2 separate regions of the Homo sapiens genome follow, and region 1 is linked to region 2. Evidence: promoter capture Hi-C in 16 types of primary human blood cells and fetal thymus (Javierre and others, 2016). All regions are on one chromosome and are shown on one strand. The core of a region is centred on a gene start or on the middle of the fragment in contact, and the rest is flanking DNA. Distances in the headings are between cores, read along the strand shown.

The links. Contacts are between HindIII fragments. The CHiCAGO score rates a contact against its expected background, and 5 or more counts as called.
Region 1: a fragment that was not itself captured here is called in contact with the fragment with the promoter of TGFB1I1 in region 2 in 2 of 17 cell types (naive CD8 T cells and non-activated CD4 T cells); the score reaches 6.4 in naive CD8 T cells.

Annotation. Positions count from the first base shown.
Region 1 is chr16:30,939,513-30,942,267 of GRCh38, reverse strand. It overlaps FBXL19 (F-box and leucine rich repeat protein 19), which reads right to left. Exons shown (of 11, transcript NM_001382779.1): 8 at 1-152. Among named protein-coding and RNA genes, the nearest start is that of ORAI3, 8.2 kb to the left of the region's middle. RefSeq lists a silencer at 129-258. The HindIII fragment of the contact is 714 bases long and covers 1,119-1,832 here.
Region 2 is chr16:31,470,814-31,473,656 of GRCh38, reverse strand. It overlaps TGFB1I1 (transforming growth factor beta 1 induced transcript 1), which reads right to left and starts at 1,505. Exons shown (of 11, transcript NM_001042454.3): 1 at 1,456-1,505; 2 at 101-216. The coding sequence starts at 1,468. RefSeq lists an enhancer at 626-1,166. The HindIII fragment of the contact is 20,246 bases long and covers 1-2,843 here.

The DNA.
Region 1 (2,755 bases), core at 226-2,725, 530 kb after region 2:
TCAGAAGCCACATGAGCTGCTTCTTGGAGACACCTGTCCAGCTGAGGTCCAGGGCACGGGGCTGGCGGCGAACCACACCACTGAGCATGGGCGGGGTCAGTGACTTCCGCCGGCTCAGGTCCATTCGAGGCCACAGACGCTTGTCATAGCACCTGGCGGCCATAGGGGGGAGACAGAGACCTCAGCCCTCAGCTCTCAGCAGCCCACAGTTCCCAGGCTCCCCAGCTCCAAGGGTGCACCCCAGCTCTCTTCTGGCCACACAGACAACAGGGTAGCAAGAAGCACCTGACCTCAGCCAAGAGCACTGGGATTGGAACCCAACTCCATCACTAACTGGAAATGAGACCCTGGGCAAGTCTGTTCCTCTCCCTGAGCCTCAGAAGCCTCGTTTATGATTGAAGGCAATAGCCCCCCCACTCTGCCTGCCCACAGGGCAGCTGTCAGGTCACATGGGCTCATCCCAGCTGTGGGCCTCCCAGCATAGAAAGTGTGCTGCCCAACACATACACAAATGCCACGCATGCTGCCTGATGTCATGCCAAGGGGACTGGTGTTATCCAGTCGTCTCCAGCCACCCTTGGGCTTCTTGATTCCTGACTGAGTTCTGGTGCTCATGGGTCCTTGCCTCCTTTACTCATCTCTGCTTCTGATCCACACCTGTCCCATCTTGACAGCCAGCTGCCCGCAGCTGGACTTACAGCCCTAATATCTTCCCTATTACATTACTGTGTTCCTCCAACTACAATGTAAATTCCACAAGGGCAGATTTGCGTTTTCCACTTTTTGAAAAAAAATTTTTTTTGAGACAGGGTCTCACTCTGTAACCCAGGCTGGACTCAGGCTCACCGCAGCCTCAACCTACTGGGCTCAAGCAATCCTCCCACCTCAGCCTCCTGAGTAGCTGGGACCACAGGCACATGTCACCACGCCTGGCTAATTTTTAAACAATTTTTTTGTAGAGACAGGGTCTCACTATGTTGCCTAGGCTGGTCTTGATCTCCTGGCCTCAAGCGATCCTCCTGCCTTGGCCTCCCAAAACACTGGGATTACAGGCATGAGCTACTGCACCCAGCTGCCCATTTGTAATGAATGAATCAAGCTAGTAACTACTTAAAGCTTCCACTGACCACTCTCCCCCACCTCCTCATCTACAGCATTTCATTTATTCACTCTGATTATAGAAAGCGTTATAGGTCCCAAGTATTGAAGCTACAAAGATGAACGAGTCCTAAGCAACATTAAACAGGTTTCCTAACCCGAGCACTCCACAGGCCTCAACAGACTATCTAACATGCAGTGGGCTGGGTGCAGTGGCTCACACCTGTAATCCCAGCACTTTGGGAGGCCGAGGTGGGTGGATCATGAGGTCAGGAATTCGAGAACAGCCTGGCTGTTCTACTAGTGAAACCCTGTCTCTACTAAAAGTACAAAAAATTAGCTGGGCATGGTGGCGGGCGCCTGTAATCCTAGCTACTCGGGAGGCTGAGGCAGGAGAATTACTTGAACCCGGGAGGCGGAGATTGCAGCGAGCCGAGATCGCACCACTGCACACCAGCTGGGGCAACAGTGAGAGACTCCATCTCAAAAACAAACAAACAAACAAACAAACAAAAAACATGCAGTGAACTGGAGAAGGGCCTCTCAAACGTACTTCCCCAGGAATCCTTCCCCACCTCTCCCAAGGTAATCTAGTAACATTTTGTAGTACACTGAAGTTCCTTTGGACTCAGTTTGAGAACTCTCTTCTCTGAGTTCAGTAGTTCTCAAAGGCATGTCCAGAAATGCCTCTGAGACTCAATAGACTGTGTCAGAAGCAGCAGGCCCAGGAAGCTTTTTTTTTTTTTTCTTGAGACAGTGTCTTGCTTAGTCACCCAGGCTGGGGTGCAGTACTGCGATCACAGCTCACTGCAACCTTAAACTCCTGGGCTCAAGCCATCCTCCTACCTCAGCCTCCTGAGTAGCTGGGACTACAGGCACATGCCACCACACCTGACTTTTTTTTTTTTTTTGAGACAGAGTTTCGCTCTTGTTGCCCAGGCTGGAGTGCAATGGTGTGATCTTGGCTCACTGAAACCACCATCTCCCAAGTTCAAGCGATTCTCCCGCCTCAGCCTCCAGAGTAGCTGGGATTACAGGCATGCGCCACCACGCCCGGCTAATTTTTTGTATTTTTAGTAGAGATAGGGTTTCTCCATGTTGGCCAGGCTGGTCTCGAAATCCTGACCTCAGGTGATCTGCCCACTTTGGCCTCCCATAGTGCTGGGATTACAGGCGTGAGCCACTGTGCCTGGCCTATTTTTTTATTTTTAGTAGAGACAAGGTTGTCCAGGCTGGTTTTGAACTCCTGAGCTCAAGCGATCCTTCCCTTGGCCTCCCAAGGGAAGCTTTCTCTTGCCTCCCTCCCTGCCCTCATGACTCTGAAAGGCTTTTCCTTGTAGAAGCCCTGGGCTGGGGCAGTGATTCCCAAGCTCCAGTATTTGCTGTTCACTTATCTGCGTAACATGATTTATCTTTGAATCATCTCCTCTTTGCACTTAAAACCAGTATTGTTGCCGGGCGCGGTGGCTCATGCGTGTAATCCCAGCACTTTGGGAGGCCGAGGTGGGTGGATCACTAGGTCAGGAGATCAAGACCATCCAGGCTAACACAGTGAAACCCCGTCTCTACTAAAAAAAAAATACAAAAAATTAGCTGGGCGTGGTGGAGGGCGCCTGTAGTCCCAGATACTCGGGAGGCTGAGGCAGGAGAATGGCGT
Region 2 (2,843 bases), core at 256-2,755:
GATGACAGGCCTGCACTCTGCCCCACTGAGGCTGAGATCCCCATAGACCAGGCCGAGCCTGGCCCTAGTGGCTGCCCCAGTCCCCAACATCCGATCTCACCTGTGGCTGGTGGCCATAGGATGGGGGAGGGGTGAGAGGCTCCGCAGGGCGCTCTTTGGGAGCCCCTGACCTTGGCATGTGCGAGGTGGTAGTCTCCAGGTCAGAGAGCAGGGCATCTGCAGGAAGAGGCCATCAGGGAGAGAGACAAGGGTCACGGTTAGATCAGAAGATAAGGTTCCCAGTGGGCAGTACTGGAGAAGGACAGAAGCCAGTATTAAGAGAAGAGGTCACAGGGCCAGAGCCAGGCAGAGCACTGCTCGAAGGGTAGCAAGGAATATTTATGACCAGAATATCCCAGTTGCTCACGCTTGGAGCCAAGCACAAACCCAGCCTCCTGATTATTTTATTCTCCCCATCTTCTCTGATGCAGTCAAAATGGGCTCTTCACCCAAGCCAAATTTGGCTCCCCTCCAAATTGCTCCATTGGCCCAGTGCCTGGCCCTCAGCTTTCTGATTGGACGCTCTCTCTTCCATGCTGGTTAACTCCTCCCTCTACCTACACAGGCCCCGCCCAGCCTGGCCACTCCCAGGCCCCTGAGTCCCGCCCTGGGCTCCTCACTGGCGCTTCGCTGGGACCTGCCTTCTGATTGGCTGTTTATCTGCGGTACAGCGTCAGTTACCCCTACCGAGCAGCGCCCTCTACCGCCAGGGGCCGGAAGCCCCTCTCTCCCGTGGAGCGCACAGCCTTCCAGCCCCAGGCTTCGCAGGGAGGACGAGATACCTGGGTCCCCCTTCCGGACAAGACACCTCTCTCCATCCCTGCATCCCCAGATCCGGGTCTTTTGAGCCCTTTCACTTCCAGAACCCAGAAGTCCTGCCCTCAGTCTTCGTCTCTGAGCACCCGCGTGAAACCCTGAAGCCTTCGCGGGCGCCTAGGCACTCCTGAGTTACTATTCTCTTCCTTGCCTCAAGGACCTGACCCTCACTGTGCTCAGGAGCCCTTAACTCCTCCTCTCCCAAAACTCTGGTGCAGGCAGGCCCGCTTTTTTTCTCCAAAACTTGATGCCAGACTTTCCCGTGCCCTCTACTTTCCCGGTCCCCGGGCCGAGGCCCCTTTAACCCCTCCCTCCCCAGAGCCCCGCGCCCGGGCGCCCGCGGGCGCCGCACCTCCCGTTCCATCTGCCGCAGCCTGGGATGGAGGAGCACAGCGAGGGAAGAAGGGAGGGAGCGGCCGGCCCAGGAAAGGCAGGAAGGGAGAGGCAGGAAGGGGGACGTGGAGTTGGAAAGGAGGCGCGGGCAGAGGCGAAAAGCAGAAGTAAGAAGACAGGGATGGGGAGATGCGGGAGAGCGACGGCGGGGAGGCAGCTCTGGGCAGCGGTGAGGGGCCACGGACCCGGGGATCCGGCCCCACTCACCCAGGTCCTCCATGGCGGGGCGCGGGCCGGTGGCGCGGGGCGAACAGGGCGGGGGCCGTGTCCGGTGGGGGCGGGGGGCGGGGGACGTCCGGGAGCTGGAAGCCCGGCCGTGACCATGTAAGGAAGCCGGGACCCGCTGAGATGGGGATGGGGGGGCGATGAACGGGGGAACCCGAGGTGGGGGCGTGGAAAGGAGGGAGCGCCCCGGCCCACCCGAGCCCAGCCCGCCGGCCTGCCGCGGAGGCGGCCACACCCCAGCCTTGGCCTCAGCTGCAGGGAGCCCCAGGAGGCCAGAGCCAGAGAGAAGTGGCTTCTCCAGACCAAGCCCCAGAGCCGCTCCCTAGGGAGACTTACAGACACGGACTGAGGCCCCCAAACAGACACCGCTCAAAGCTAGCGCCTGAGTCCTAGACAAGAGCCTCCCTCCCACCCATGCCATTCCTGGGAGACTTGTCCCAGACGGAATTTTTGGATTGGTAGCAGGAGTGATATTCTAAGGCTCAATTAGACCTCAGGTTCGGAGACCCTCCCATCGGAGACCCTGACAGATAAATAGAGGCCCCAAGAGGCATACATACCAGACACAAAGAAATCTGAGGGACGGGGACAGACACAGTGAACCCACCCACAGACTCTACACTAGGACCTTCCCTCCAAGACTTGGTCATGGACACACGTAAACTCGAACCCGGGCGCAAGCCCCTTGCAAATTCGGGGAAAACACTCCCAGGCAACCAACCCCCAGCCAGCCTGCAAGACAAAGCCCTTCCTCAGCACTGAGGTGGCCCAGGCCTGCTCTGAAACAGCCCTTTCCCAAGTTACTGATGAACTCAGAGCAGAAAGCAAGACACAGTCTCCAGCCACAAAGTGGCAAGGCCTTCCCTGGACTGAGACCCTGAGAAACGAGGTGGAAACGAGAGGCCATAGAGGTAGTTATGGACAGACAACTGTGCTGCAGCCACTCTTCTGGACAGATCTGAGCACTGGAATGTGAGTATCAACCCAGCAGCAAATCGGAACAACCTGGGGAGCTTTTTAAAAATGCGAGACAGGCATGGTGGCTCACACCTATAATCCTAGCACTTTGGGAGGTCAAGGCGGGCAGGTCACTTGAGGTCAGGAGTTCGAGACCAGCCTGGCCAACATGACAAAACCCCATCTCTACTAAAAACACAAAATTAGCTGTGCGTGGTGGTGGGAGCCTGTAATTCCAGCTACTTGGGAGGCTGAGACAGGAGAATTGCTTGAAACCTGGAGGCAGAGGCTGCAGTGAGCTGAGATTGTGCCACTGAACTCCTGAGCAACAGAGGAGACCCTGTGTCAAGAATAAAAAAGAAAAAGAAGAAAAAATGGGCAAACGACCTGAATAGACAGTTCAAAGAAGTTAT